Regions from separate parts of the Homo sapiens genome. Here region 1 is linked to region 2. Evidence: promoter capture Hi-C in 16 types of primary human blood cells and fetal thymus (Javierre and others, 2016). All regions are on one chromosome and are shown on one strand. The core of a region is centred on a gene start or on the middle of the fragment in contact, and the rest is flanking DNA. Distances in the headings are between cores, read along the strand shown.

The links. The method cuts DNA at HindIII sites, captures the fragments that hold promoters and counts their contacts. A CHiCAGO score of 5 or more calls a contact.
Region 1: a fragment that was not itself captured here is called in contact with the fragment with the promoter of PAN2 in region 2 in 1 of 17 cell types (erythroblasts); the score reaches 6.1 in erythroblasts.

The regions. Positions count from the first base shown.
Region 1 is chr12:56,607,967-56,614,705 of GRCh38, forward strand. BAZ2A (bromodomain adjacent to zinc finger domain 2A) reads right to left here. Exons shown (of 29, transcript NM_001300905.2): 4 at 5,987-6,172; 5 at 5,049-5,267; 6 at 3,807-4,280; 7 at 3,607-3,667; 8 at 2,443-2,551; 9 at 2,148-2,249; 10 at 1,770-1,980. Among named protein-coding and RNA genes, the nearest start is that of BAZ2A, 19 kb to the right of the region's middle. The HindIII fragment of the contact is 1,811 bases long and covers 2,699-4,509 here.
Region 2 is chr12:56,329,143-56,335,957 of GRCh38, forward strand. PAN2 (poly(A) specific ribonuclease subunit PAN2) reads right to left here and starts at 4,858. Exons shown (of 26, transcript NM_014871.6): 1 at 4,720-4,858; 2 at 3,671-4,066. The coding sequence starts at 3,952. RefSeq lists enhancers at 4,694-4,863, 4,989-5,208, 5,126-5,295 and cis regulatory regions at 4,763-4,794, 4,779. The HindIII fragment of the contact is 11,393 bases long and covers 2,160-6,815 here.

The DNA.
Region 1 (6,739 bases), core at 2,354-4,853, 280 kb after region 2:
CTACTCTGGAGGCTGAGGCAGGAGAATCGCTTAAACCTGGGAGGTTGCGGTGAGCCAAGATCGCGCCATTGCACTCCAGCCTGGGCAACAAGAGCAAAACTCCATCTGGAAAAAAAAAAAAAAAGGGCCAGGCGTGGGGGCTACACCTGTAATCCCAGCACTTTGAGAGGTCGAGGTGGGCGGATCACGAGGTCAGGAGATCGAGACCATCCTGGCTAACATGGTGAAACCCCGTCTCTACTAAAAATACAAAAAATTAGCCAGGTGTGGTGGCGTGCACCTGTAGTCCCAGCTACTCGGGAGGCCGAGGCAGGAGAATGGGGTGAATCCAGGAGGCAGAGCTTGTAGTGAGCCAAGATCGTGCCACTGCACTCCATCCTGGGTGACAGAGTAAGACTCTGTCTCAAAAAAAAAAAAACAAAATGAGACTTGTTCTAGGTCATTTGGTTGAAACATGACACGGCTAGATGTCTGAGTGAAAATCAAAAGACTAAGTTTTTTCACATTCTTCACACTACACCAGGGTAAACACACTATTTACTGAAAAATGTAGGTATTTCTCACCTGTCCATCCACTAAAACAGTGCCTATTATTATTATTATATTATTATTATTATTTTGAGATGGAGTTTCACTCTTGTTGCCCAGGCTGGAGTGCAATGGTGTGATCTCAGCTCACTGCAACCTCTGCCTCCTGGGTTCAAGCCATTCTCCTGCCTCAGCCTCCCGAGTAGCTGGGATTACAGGCATGCGCCACCATGCCTGGCTAATTTTGTATTTATAGTAGAGACAGGGTTTCTTCATGTTGGTCAGGCTGGTCTTGAACTCCCGACCTCAGGTGATCTGCCCTCCTCAGTCTCCCAAAGTGGTGGGATTACAGGCGTGAGCCACCGTGCCTGGCTTTTTTTTTTTTTTTTTTTTTTTTTGAGACAGAGTCTAGCTCTATCACCAAGCTGGAGTGCAGTGGCGCAATCTCAGCTTACTGAAACCTCCACCTCCCAGGTTCAAGCTATTCTCCTGCCTCAGCCTCCCAAGTAGGTGGGACTACAGGCACACACCACCACGCCCAGCTAATTTTTTGTTTTGTATTTTTAGTAGAGACGGGGTTTTACCATGTTCGCCAGGATGGTCTCAATCTCTTGACCTCACGATCCGCCCGCCTTGGCCTTCCGAAGTGCTGGGATTACAGGTGTGAGACACTGTGCCCGGCCTATTATTTTTTTTAGAAACAGGGCCTTGCTCTGTTGCCCAGGTTGGAATGCAATAACACAACTGAAGTTTACTGTAGCCTCCAAACTCCTGGGCTCAAGTGATCCTCTGCTGCCTGCCTCAGCCTCCTGGGTAACTGGGATTATTAAGCACACACCACCATGCCTGGCTCCCAATTATCTTTTGAATTCAGATGTGAATTCTGAACCTCCATGATAGTAGAAATGGGTAAGGTAAAAGGGTACAACTGAACCAGTATATGATAAGGAGCTAAAAGATGGAAAGAAAGGGCAAGAAAGTCCTCTCCTCTGGGCTAAACACACCTGGGGGCAGCCCAAGGTTTCACTGGTAACAGCAACTCAAGAAAGACCATGGCTGGAAAAGTAGTATTCCCAAGCGCTGGGACTAGGATGCTGGATTCCAAGGAGAAGCTGATTCAGATTCATTCTTCCCAGATAATGTTAGTTACACTCCTGGGAAATCCAGGTATTAGCAATTCATCAACATTTTAGATACCTCATGGAGGGAGCAGAATCCCAAAGTAAGAAATACCACTGTACCTTGGGCCTCCAGTTTCTTTAGGGGGCGGTTGTCTGTCTTGTTCAATAGCTCAGTGATTTTGACCTTAGGTGGCCGACCTCGACCCCGTTTCACCTTGGGGACTTCCTTAGTCTTAGCCTTCTCAGTGTTTCGAGGTCGACCCCGTTTGCCAGTAATTGCCTGAATCCTCGACGGGATCTCCTCTGCTGAGAGCTGCACCCACTGCAAGCCCTAAGGTAGCAAGGGAGACTGTTACAGTAGTAAGGAATCAGTGCAGGCCACGAGGCCCTCGGAACCATTCAATGCCCCAGAACCTTCAAACCCCACGAGAGGAAGCTGCAGCTTGTCCACCAACTCTTCCTCAGGGACAAAAGCATATTTAACCCTTGGGTCTGCACCTCTGGCGTGTCTCTTTCTTCAAAGAAATCTCCAACAGGCATACGGGGACTGAAGCTGAAGTGCTCTCGGCGGACACTGTGTACCACGTTGCGGCTCAGGTACTAAGAGGAAGAAGTAAAGTAACATTAATAAAGTTGGATCCTACCATGTCTTTGGCCAGCAAAGGCATAAGCAGAACAGGCCCAGAGCAGACAATGCCAGCCTGTTGTCACTGAGCCCAAGAACGGAGTCTTGGGCAGTGGAAAGGAGTCCACTGAGCCCAAGAAAGCAGTCCTTTAAAAAAAGCTACATTACCTTGATCACTTCTGGAAATTGCTTCATCCTCTTCCCACAGGGGCCATAATACCAGGTCTCCCCCTGCCATCGGTGGCTGCCCTTCTTGATGCGCACCTCTCTCCGCCACCTGCCAGAGAAGCACATGGGCCCTGCCGCCAGGTCACACCCCTACCCACTCCCATGCCACCTAAGCGCGAAGCCCTCTGAGCAGATGGCCCTCCCCACATTTGTATCTCTAGAACTGCATGCAGATGCAAAAGCACCAAGAGAGATAAGCTTGGCTAGAAGGCTGACTTGAGCTCCAGCAAATACATCAAGGCCCTTAGGAGAAAAGCACTACACCAAACTGCACAAGCTCAGAGAGATCTCCATCCCTCCTTTACAAAATCAGTGAGATAAGCTGCCAGAAACCCCTCCCTGAGCCATTCAGGGCAGTTACTGGATTTCCAGTAAAGAGGATAAAGACCTAAGGGGAATAAAGACAGAAGACAAAGGGCAGGGAGGCAAGCAGAAAAATAAATTTGCTGCTGATTCCATGAAAAGACTCAATATGCCAGGGTTTAGTTAGGAACTCTGTGTTCTGAGCAGAACACAAAGTTAGTCAGAGTTAGTTCTAAGACTAACTCTAATCTTTCTCTCAAAATTTTAAGCAGTACTCAGACTTGGTGACCACAAGTAGCCTTGAGGGGCAGGGGTGGGGAAGATCCAGGAAGGCAGTTATTTCCACAAGGCCCTGGTGTCAGCTAGTTTGTTCATTTTGGTCATGTACTGTTCCTGCCCTTACCTCTCCTAAGAGCATTAAAACAACAAAACCACCTCAATTCATTAGTACTAAGTCACTCCTCATTCATTACTATCCCTTGTCCACAGAAATAGGACAAGCCAGCTGGTTTGGATGTGAGCCCTAGGGTTTGGAAAAGATAATAGCTGGAGCTCCTTGGGCAAAATTGAGTCACTACAAGATGAAAAAAGAATAGGTGATGGAAGACAGACCTTGAGAGAAGAAGGAAAACCTAGGAATCTCATGCCAAGAAACATTATCACTGCAGATAACTGTCCTGTAATCTACTCTTGTCTGGCCCATTCCTCCCCCACCTCAGAGGAAAAGAGGCATTCCCTTCTTTCTAGAGTTGTGCATTAAACTTGTCAAGGTCAATAAATGTAGCAAACTAGAGCATTTACCCATGTTGGAGGGGAAGACGAACTTCTTCTGGGGTAGCAATACGTCTCCTCATGACATCACCTTGGGAGGAAGGGATACCCAAGTTAAGAGTTCAAGCAAAATATTTAAACAATAGGCCAATAGGGAAAGGCTAACTACAACATGGGACAGAAAAGTTTCTTGGAACCAGACAGGGATAGAATAGAATCTGGATACTCACCACTACCAGAAGCAGTGAGTCCTTCTCCAGTGATCTCTTCCACGTCAGCAGTGGTTTCTAGAAAGCTGCTGACATCCTTATTTGCTGGGGAGGCTGTTGGAAAGGCAGCTGCTGGGGAAGTTACGGGAGAGGCTTTTGGGGATGTCACTGAAGCCGTCAACGGGACTTCTAAGGAGACTGCTGGGAGGACTGCTGAGGAAGCTGGAGAGACCACTGAGAAGACTGCTGGAGAGACAACTGTAGAAGCTGCGGGACAAACTTCTGGAGAGATTTCTGGGGAGGCTGCTGGAGAAACCACTAGGGAGACTGCTGGGGAGGTTGTTGGCGAGACTGCTGGTGAGGTTGCTGGATGTAGCTGAATAGTGGATGACTGATCAGGAGCTGGCTGGGTCAGGGATGGTGGGAAGTCTGAAGATTGAGTTTCCATTTCTTCCTGTTCAGCGTCACTACCATTATTCAGGTCAAAGCTGTTATCTAGAATCCAAAGGGACAGGATAGGCTTTAAAAAAAAAAAAGGCATCACATAAAACAAGAGAATCTACTCAGTCAACCCTGGACCAAGCTAAACAGGGTTACTTCAAGGGGTCTTCCCTAGGGTTGGAAAAAGAAGTAGCTTTTTCTCCCAACCAATCATGAGGATTAAAGGGTAAAGTTGCTACAGATGTCATTGTGTGAAGAAATACCTTTTACCTGGTGCCAATAAAGCTTCTAGCCTCCTTCTCCCTACAAATTCCAAGTCTCACAAGTTCTTCAAAGCAGAGGGCACAGGTCGGAGTATAGCAGCCTATACCTCTTTTAGTTCCACCATACACTATCCCATAGCCCCTCAGCTCCCAGCAAGGTGCTCTTGCTTTCCTACTTTTTTTTTGAGATGGAGTCTTGCTCTGTTGCCCAGGTTGGAGTGCAACGACACAATCTCGGCTCACTGCAACCTCTGCCTCCTGGGGCCAAGCGATTCTCCTGCCTCAGCCTCCCAGGTAGCTGGGATTACAGGCATGTGCCAACACACCTGGCTAATTTTTGTATTTTTAGTAGAGGCGGGGTTTCACCATGTTGGCCAGGTGGTCTCAAACTCCTGATCTCAGGTGATCCACCCGCCTCGGCCTCCCGAAGTGCTGAGATTACAGGCGTGAGCCACTGCGCCCAGCCAGATTTCCCACTCTTAAGGCCCTAACTATGAAACTTATTCTCTCATCTTTTCTCAGGTAAAGGTCTTTCTTTGTCCTACCTACCGTCACTTACCTTGCAGGACAGACTCCCCTAGGACAGGTGGAGAGGTGGGACTGGCAAAGATAGAGGTTGATGTTTGACTATCATCTGCCAGGAGACTGAAGGCAGTAGCATTATTGAGGGAAGGGCAATCAAGGGCAGAAATCACAGGGCTGTCCTCAAGAGGCAGCTTGTCCTCTGCACCCATCAGCTCCGTGTCATCAATACCATATAGTCCTCCACTCACTGGCTCTGTTTACAAGGGTAGAAAAATCAGAGCAGGATAATGAGAAAAAAATCAGAAAGCAAGATTTAAGAAACACTGGTCAGAAAACATCCAATTCTAGTTCCCACAATGTGAAGATTCTTCCTAATATTAAGTTAGGTAACAAGTAAAGCCTTCTCCCTGAAAGAGTAGTCATGAGATTATAGGGATCATAAAAGTTTGAGGGGAGGCCGAGGCAGAAGAATTGCTTGAGGCCAGAGTTCAAGACCAGCCTGGACAACATAGCAAGACCTCATCTCTACAAGGTGAAAATGAAAGGAAAGGCATTGGTGGTATTATCTACCCAGAGACCTATGCAAAATTCTAGGATTTATCATAAAATATGTCTTTCTTGTACTTCAGTGGAGTAAAAGGTAACTGCTCACTGACAAATGTTTTCTTCCTAGTTTGTCAGAACCCAGAAAGATCAACTGTGTGATAATAAGTCCCTACCCAGTGAATTATTACAGCCCAGAGCTCTTGGCCAAAAGGAATACTGGGAAAGAACCTGGGACATGAACCAATTCAGCTCAGAATTCAGTTAGGGCACCAAGTCCTGTGGCATGTAACTGTGGTCTGCCTTAGGCCTACCTGGAAGCCCCAGTGCCCCTGATTGCCTAATACTTTTCCCATTTTACTGTCTCTTTCAGGTAAAGTTTGGCTACTCTGCATGGATAAGTTAAAGGGACATAGCCTCCAAACCTACCTGGTGCCAGAGAGTTGAAGGGCTCCAGAGAGTCTTCACTGAGGATTGGAGTGTCTTCCAGTTGATCAGGAAGATGTGAAGGATCATCTAAACAGCTCACTGTGGGGTCAGGGACCAGGACTGAGACCTCTTGGTGTAACGATTCCACAGAAGGGACAGAGCCATTGTAGCCACACATCTTCAGTTCTAGGAAATCACAGGAGAGACCAAAAGTCAAAATCAGTGCCTTATATTGGTTCACTTAGCTATACTAGGCAGTCAATCTTTGCTAGAAGGATGTTCATTCATTCAACATTTATTGCGGCCAGTTCATTGCTGGGAACCGATCACATCAAGATACTCTGAGCAGAGATGTGCTGGTAAAATCAATCCTACAGCAGGCAAAGAGAGGAAAAGAGAGTGGGGTCTGATACAACATCTCTATCATGTTCTCAGATATCTCCTCCATCCATTGGGAAACGAGAAAACATCCTGTAATTTTACAGAGTGGTGGTTACCCTTGTACCAGGAATCAACTGGAAGCTAAGCTTTTATCTATTTTGAGGGAAAAGATGAGAGGGGCTGTCACGTGTACTAATGCTAAACAACAAAAAAAAGGAAACTGAGTAGACAAATAATGATATGCTCTGCCTGCTTCCTTCCCTCCTTCGCATGCCAATCACTACATTGGGCTCAGACGACTTTAACAGCCAGTCTGATCCTGCCACAGTCAGTTAAAACAGCCTCAATGCCCGCTGCTAGACCCTAACCACT
Region 2 (6,815 bases), core at 3,608-6,107:
CCTTAAACATCCCATCATAACCTCAAACTCATGACATCCTAAATTAAATTCACCATTTTTATTTCTATTTTTCTTACTGTATTCTCTATGGTACCAAGATCTACCTAGTTGACCAAGCCATATATCTGACAGTCAAGTCCTATGTATTTTTTTCCTAACCACTAGATAACCAAGGATTTTTTAAAATTTTTATTTATGTATTTATTTTTTGAGATGGAGTTTCACTCTTGTTGCCCAGGCTGGAGTGCAATGGCACGATCTCAGCTCACTGCAACCTCTGCCTCCCAGGTTCAAGCAATTCTCCTGCCTCCCAAGTAGCCAGGATTACAGGCATGCACCACCACACCTAGCTAATTTTTTGTATTTTTAGTAGAAAGGGGGTTTCACCATGTTGGCCAGGCTGGTTTCGAACTCCTGACCTCAGGTGATCCACCTGCCTCGGCCTCCCAAAATTCTAGGATTACAGGCATCAGTCACCGCACCTGGCCTATTTTGCTTCCTAAATATTTCCCAAATCTGAGGCTGGGTGCTGTGGCTCACACTGTAATCCCAGCACTTTGGGAGGCCAAGGCAGGTGGATCACTTGAGGCCAGGAGTTTGACACCAGCCTGGCCAACATGGTGAAACGTCATCTCTACTAAAAATACAAAAATTAGCTGAGCATGGTGGCACACACCTGTAGTCCCAGCTACTCAGGAGGCTGAGGCAGGAGGATTACTTTAACCTGGGAGGCAGAGGTTGCAGTGAGCTGAGATGGCACCACTTCACTCCAACCTGGGCAACAGAGTGAGATTCCACCTAAAAAAAAAAAAAAAAAAAAGCCCTTCAGTGGCCTGAAGGTTCAAGTCCAAGGTCCAAGCTCTTTTAACACAGCATATGAAGTTCTCTAGAATGTTCCTTCCCCAGATATCTACATGGCTCCTTCCCTCCCTTCTAGAGGGCCTAGAATAGTAAAGGAGAGGCACAAGGATAAGTTAGAGGCATGGAGCTCTGCCTCTTTGTTCCCCTTTTTGGTGCTGCATCCAAGTCTCTATTCAAATGTTACTTTATCAGAGAGAACTCCTGACCAACTATTTAAAGTAGCAACATTGTTTCTAAAAGAGCCATTAGGAAAAAAGATTAAAATTAAAACAAAACACTACAAAACCAAACAAAATAGCAACATTTCCCACCCTTCATTACCTCAACCCCCTTACTCAACTGTATTTTTCTTTTTTTTTTTTTTTTTTTTTTTTGAGACGGAGTCTCGCTCTGTCGCCCAGGCTGGAGTGCAGTGGCGGGATCTCGGCTCACTGCAAGCTCCGCCTCCCGGGTTCACGCCATTCTCCTGCCTCAGCCTCCCAAGTAGCTGGGACTACAGGCGCCCGCCACTACGCCCGGCTAATTTTTTGTATTTTTAGTAGAGACGGGGTTTCACCGTTTTAGCCGGGATGGTCTCGATCTCCTGACCTCGTGATCCGCCCGCCTCGGCCTCCCAAAGTGCTGGGATTACAGGCGTGAGCCACCGCGCCCGGCCTGTATTTTTCTTTTAATAGAGATGGGGTCTTGCTATGTTGCCCAGACTGGTATTGAACTCTTAGGCTCAAGCAACCCTCCCACCTTGGCTTATCAAAGTGCCGGGATTACAGGTGCCACTGTGCCTGGCCTCATTGTATTTTTCTTTTTCTTTTTTTTGAGACGGAGTCTTGCCCTGTCACCCAGGCAGGAGTGCAGTGGTGTGATCTCAGCTCACTGCAACCTCTGCCTCCCAGGTTCAAGCAATTCTCCTGCTTCAGCCTCCCAAGTAGCTGGGATTATAGGAACCTGCCACCACACCCAGCTAATTTTTATATTTTCAGTAGAGACGGGGGTTTCACCATGTTGGCCAGGTTGGTCTTGAATTCCTGACCTCAGGTGATCCGCCTGCTTCGGCCTCCCAAAGTGCTGGGATTACAGGTGTGAGTCACCATGCCCAGCCAGCATTTTTCTTAACAGTACTAATCAACACCTGATGTATTGTAATGTTTTTCTGTTTACTGCTTATTCCAAACCTAGACCTTAGGGCAAGGTCTGACACCTAGCATGTGGCTCAAAAAAACACTGGTTGAATGAATAAATGTCTACCTCTTCCAGTCCGGTAAATCCTAATTGCTTGTAGTTCCTGAATTTTGTACTCAGCAAGCTTTGTAGTATCTTGGGAATCTTTGTTTATCCTATGCTAAGACGCCTTTTCCCATCTTTCTCACCTGATTTCTACTCATGTTGCAAGACTCAGTTCAAGGGTTACTTCCTCCTCGATGCCCTTTCTGACTATTCTCCATCCTGTCCAGCATCCAGTACAGATTTTCACACTGGCGCTTAGTACCATGAAATTATCTGGTTTTGTATATGTTTTTTACCTCACTGTCCTGTAAACTCCTTGAGGGCAAGGATTATGTTTTATTTAGCTTTATTCACAGTGCCTAGCATAGCAGTAGACACTGCCTATTAAACTGAATGAATCACACACAAAAATTCATCCCTTCTAATGGAAAAACAATTCATGACCAAAGAAGTCAATCAGTAAATGAAGGACAGCGTTTTTTTTTTTTTTGTTTTTTGTTTTTTTTTGAGACGGAGTCTCGCTCTGTCACCCAGGCTGGAGTGCAGTGGCGTGATCTCGGCTCACTGCAACCTCTGCCTCCCAGGTTCAAGCGATTCTCCTGCCTCAGCCTTCCGAGTAGCTGGGACTACAGGCGCCTGCCACCATGCCCAGCTAATTTTTTGCATTTTTAGTAGAGACAGGGTTTCACCATGTTAGCCAGGATGGTCTCGATCTCCTGACCTCGTGATCCGCCTGCCTCAGCCTCCCAAAGTGCTGGGATTACAGGAGTGAGCCACCGGTCCCGGCCGGACAGCACAGTATTTCTTACAAAGTCTTTGGGCACCATAGCATATTGGCAATACGGGTACAGATTTTAAAAAATTAAGATTGATAACTGCTCTGAGAGATATTAAAATCAGCCAGAGAAGACAAAATGATTCAATGGAAGATATGCAGAATCATTCATTAAATATTCTATAATAATAAAAATAGAAAACACAGGTGGGGCAACAGCAATTGAGATTAGATTTGGATGGCTACAGACTAAGTGATGGGTACAACTATCAAGATAAATCAAAACACTGGATGGGCAATTGTGACAAAAGTGGGATGCTGGCCAGGTGCCGTGGCTCACACCTGTAACCCCAGCACTTTGGCAGCTCTATGCAGGAGGACCATTTGAGCTCAGGAGTTTGAGACAAGCCTGGGCAACATAGTAAGACTAAAAAATTTTTTAAAAATTAGCTGGTCTTGGTTGCGCATGCCTGTAGTCCCAGCTACTTGAGATGCTAAAGTGGGAGGATTGTGTGAGCCCAGGAGATTGAGGCTGCAGTGAGCCATGATCACATTACGCCATTGCACTCTGGCCTAGGCGACAGAGCAAGACCCTGTCTCGAAAAAAAAAAAAAAAAAAAGGGATGCCTCCTGAGAAAGAATATGTCATTTACTCCTAGATCCTAGATTCTCCCTTTATCCCTCCAACCAGACCCAGCTGTCTCATCACTACAACTCCTCGGTACTGGCTATCTGCAAAGCAGCTTCCTTGGGTTAAGACCAGATAAAGACCTTCAACATCTTTCAACCCTCACAAAGGGGTACAGTTCTTACCCCGTGGCTCCCCACCCACAGCATCTCCTCGTGCAAGTCAAAGTGGGAGACGGAAACAGGTACACCCACTTCAGCCACCACGCTGTGCAATTCAGAGTAGACACCTTCCATTATGTGCACTGATTCCTGGACGGGAAGAGCCTCCAAGGCCACTCCCTCTGGGTCCAGCTCCACATTCTGTAGCAGACTTGGGTTCAGGTGGGCATCCAAGACAGGGTCCAGGGCAGAATGCATGGCTGGGGCATATTCTGCCAGTCCAGGGTCCAGACCCTCAAAGTTCATGATGACGATGGCAGCTTACACCTGTGTCACACCCTCCCTTACCACAGTCCCTTTAGATGCCTGACCCAACCTTCAGCAAGACAGCACCGATGGGCCTAGAATGGACATCCTGGCCTGTAAGGGGAAAGAGGTAGCTGAGTCAAGGGTAGGCCCAGGTACTGGTACTTAGGGTCTTCTAGGTTATGGGGGCAGGAGGGAGATGAGGCAGGCATGAGGGATGAGACTGCCAGCCAAAGGATGAAGCAGGCGGGGGAGGGATGGGCAGTGGGGGTGGAGGTGGTAGAACTGTTGTCCCTATCCCTCCTCCGCTAGGCCCTCTGTACTCTCCACCACCCCATTATCTAACCTAATCCTTGACTTCCCTTTCTTCTCACTTCGGACTGCTCACTTGCCTTGTTCAGCCCTGAATCATCAGGTGAAGGGAGCGAGAATTGCGGGGGTTGGAGTTAGGTAGAGGGATTTAAGGTGCTTTCTCCCAGAATTGGGGGTGAAAACGGGTGGATTGGACGGTGGGGAGAACGAGAAGTCAGTTTCCTAGAATCCTCTCCAATAGCTACCCAGGATTCTCTAGAGGAAAACAATAATGGCCAGTTACCCACAATTGGGGCGGGGGCAGGGGAAGGTGACGGAAACGGCTAGTTACCCAGAATTCTCTGGGGGAACCAGAAAAATCGGTTATCTAGAATTCTCCCACGGCAGCGGTGAGGAGGGGGATAGGGCAAGGGTCAGATGTGTTCCTGGGATGCTTACGGGGAATGGGTCATTACCAAGATTTCTCCATGGCGGATATTTTGGAGCGCGTGGAATTAGAACGAGTAGGGGGAGCGCAAGCGCTGTCAGCTCCGCGGGAAATTCCAGTTTCCCCAGTTCTCCCCCACGCCTAGGGCTCAACCTAACCACTACGGCGCCAAGGACCGGGGTCCGAGGCGCTTCTTCCAATCAAGAAGGGCTCGGGGCATATTTTAGCCAATCAGAAGGGCTCCGGGCGCATCTAAGCCAATCAGAAGGAGCCAGGTACGGCGACCCCAGGAGAGAGCGTGTGACGCACGCGCCGGAAAAAGAGGTTACGGGGCGCCGGTGGGACAAACGCAGCCAGACGCCGGACTTGTTGGGTGGCGTTAGAAAGTAACTCTGTTTTTAGTCTTCTTGAACAAAATTACGTCTAGGTTTGAAAACCAAACTTTTATGCTTTCTATAACTTTAGGAACTCTAAAATAAGGGACACACAAGGCAAAGCACTAGGAGTCGCTGTTGGGTATTCCCAGCGGGGCTTAGTCTACCTCCTCTTCCTGCGGTGCCCTAGTGAGCCACTCCGCCACCTCTGACCCTGTTGCCCCCAAAACTCGCTGGCATTTCCTATTATTTCCAGATATGGGAGAGAAAAAAAAGGAAGCGGGAGCCGGACTCCTGACACAGTCCAAGTGGCTGCATCTTCTACAGGCATCCATCTGAAACTCCCATCCGTGATTGTTCCCTCCCCAGAGACCCCGGTAACATTCCCGGGTAACAAGATGCCCCTGGTTATCAAATTCCCCTAGCTCTTGAGGCTGGCTGGACGTTATCCCTCAGAGGGGGATGAGCATGGCAAATTGGGACTTGTTATTCTGAAGGATTCGTGGGTCCTGTGAACTCTAATTACTTTGAAATGGGTCTAGGTTGTGAGATGTCTCAGAGCACTTTAGCTCAGCTGTTATTACTGTTTCTAAAGGCCACATAAAGGGACTCTGATGGGAGACATTCCTCATGGAGGATTCAATTCTATAACATTTCTCTCAATAAAGGCTGGTAAATAGACCTTCATTAAAGGAACCAAGAATTTAAATTTCTAGGACTCAGAGGGGTGGGGTCCTATACCCAGTCAGAGATCCTACCTAGAGCCTAGACCAAGAGAAAAACACAGATGGTCTCTCAAACTGATTTGATCTGACTTCGCAGGTCATTAGATATAGAATCTCCGAAAAAGGTGGATGCTGAGAGACATAGACAGTTCCTACACTTTAAGAAATCTCCATCTTGAGGTCTCAAATTGAGAAAGACTTAACAGACCCATGAGAGTTACAGATCCCTAATAACCTGGGCTAAATAATCCATGTCTGCCGGGCGCAGTGGCTCACGCCTGTAATCCCAGCACTTTGGGAGGCCGAGGTGGGCGGATCACCTGAGGTCGGGAGTTCGAGACCAACCTGACCAATATGGAGAAACCCCGTCTCCACTAAAAATACAAAATTAGCCGGGCCTGGTGACGGGAGCCTGTAATCCCAGCTACTTGGGAGGCTGAGGCAGGAGAATCATTTGAACCTGGGAGGCGGAGGTTGCAGTGAGCCGAGATGGCACCATTGCACTCCAGCCTGGTCAGTAAGAGCGAAACTCCGTCTCAAAAAAAAGAAAAAAAAAAAGAAAAGAAAAAAGGATACTGTGAGGAGACACAAGAGCATCCATGACATAGATTATTTAGCTCAGCTGTAATTACTGTTTCTAATACAGTAATATTAGATGGTGATCTGCCTGCCTCGGCCTCCCAAAGTTCTGGGATTACAGGTGTGAGCCACCGCGCCCAGCCTTTTTTTTTTTTTTTTTTTGAGACAGGATCTCACTCTGTTGCCCATGCTTAAGCGCATTGGCCCTCTCACTCACTGTAGCCTCAACCTCCTGGGCTCAAGCGATCCTCCCACTTCAGCCTCCCAACTAGCTGTAACTACAGGCACTGGCCACCAAACCCAGATAATTTTTTTTTTCCTGTAGAGGTGGGGTTTTGCCACGTTACCCAGGCTGGTCTTGAACTCTTAAGCTCAAGCGATCCTCCTGCCTCGGCCCCCCAAAGTTCTGGGATTACAGGCATGAGCCACCATACCTGGCGTACAGT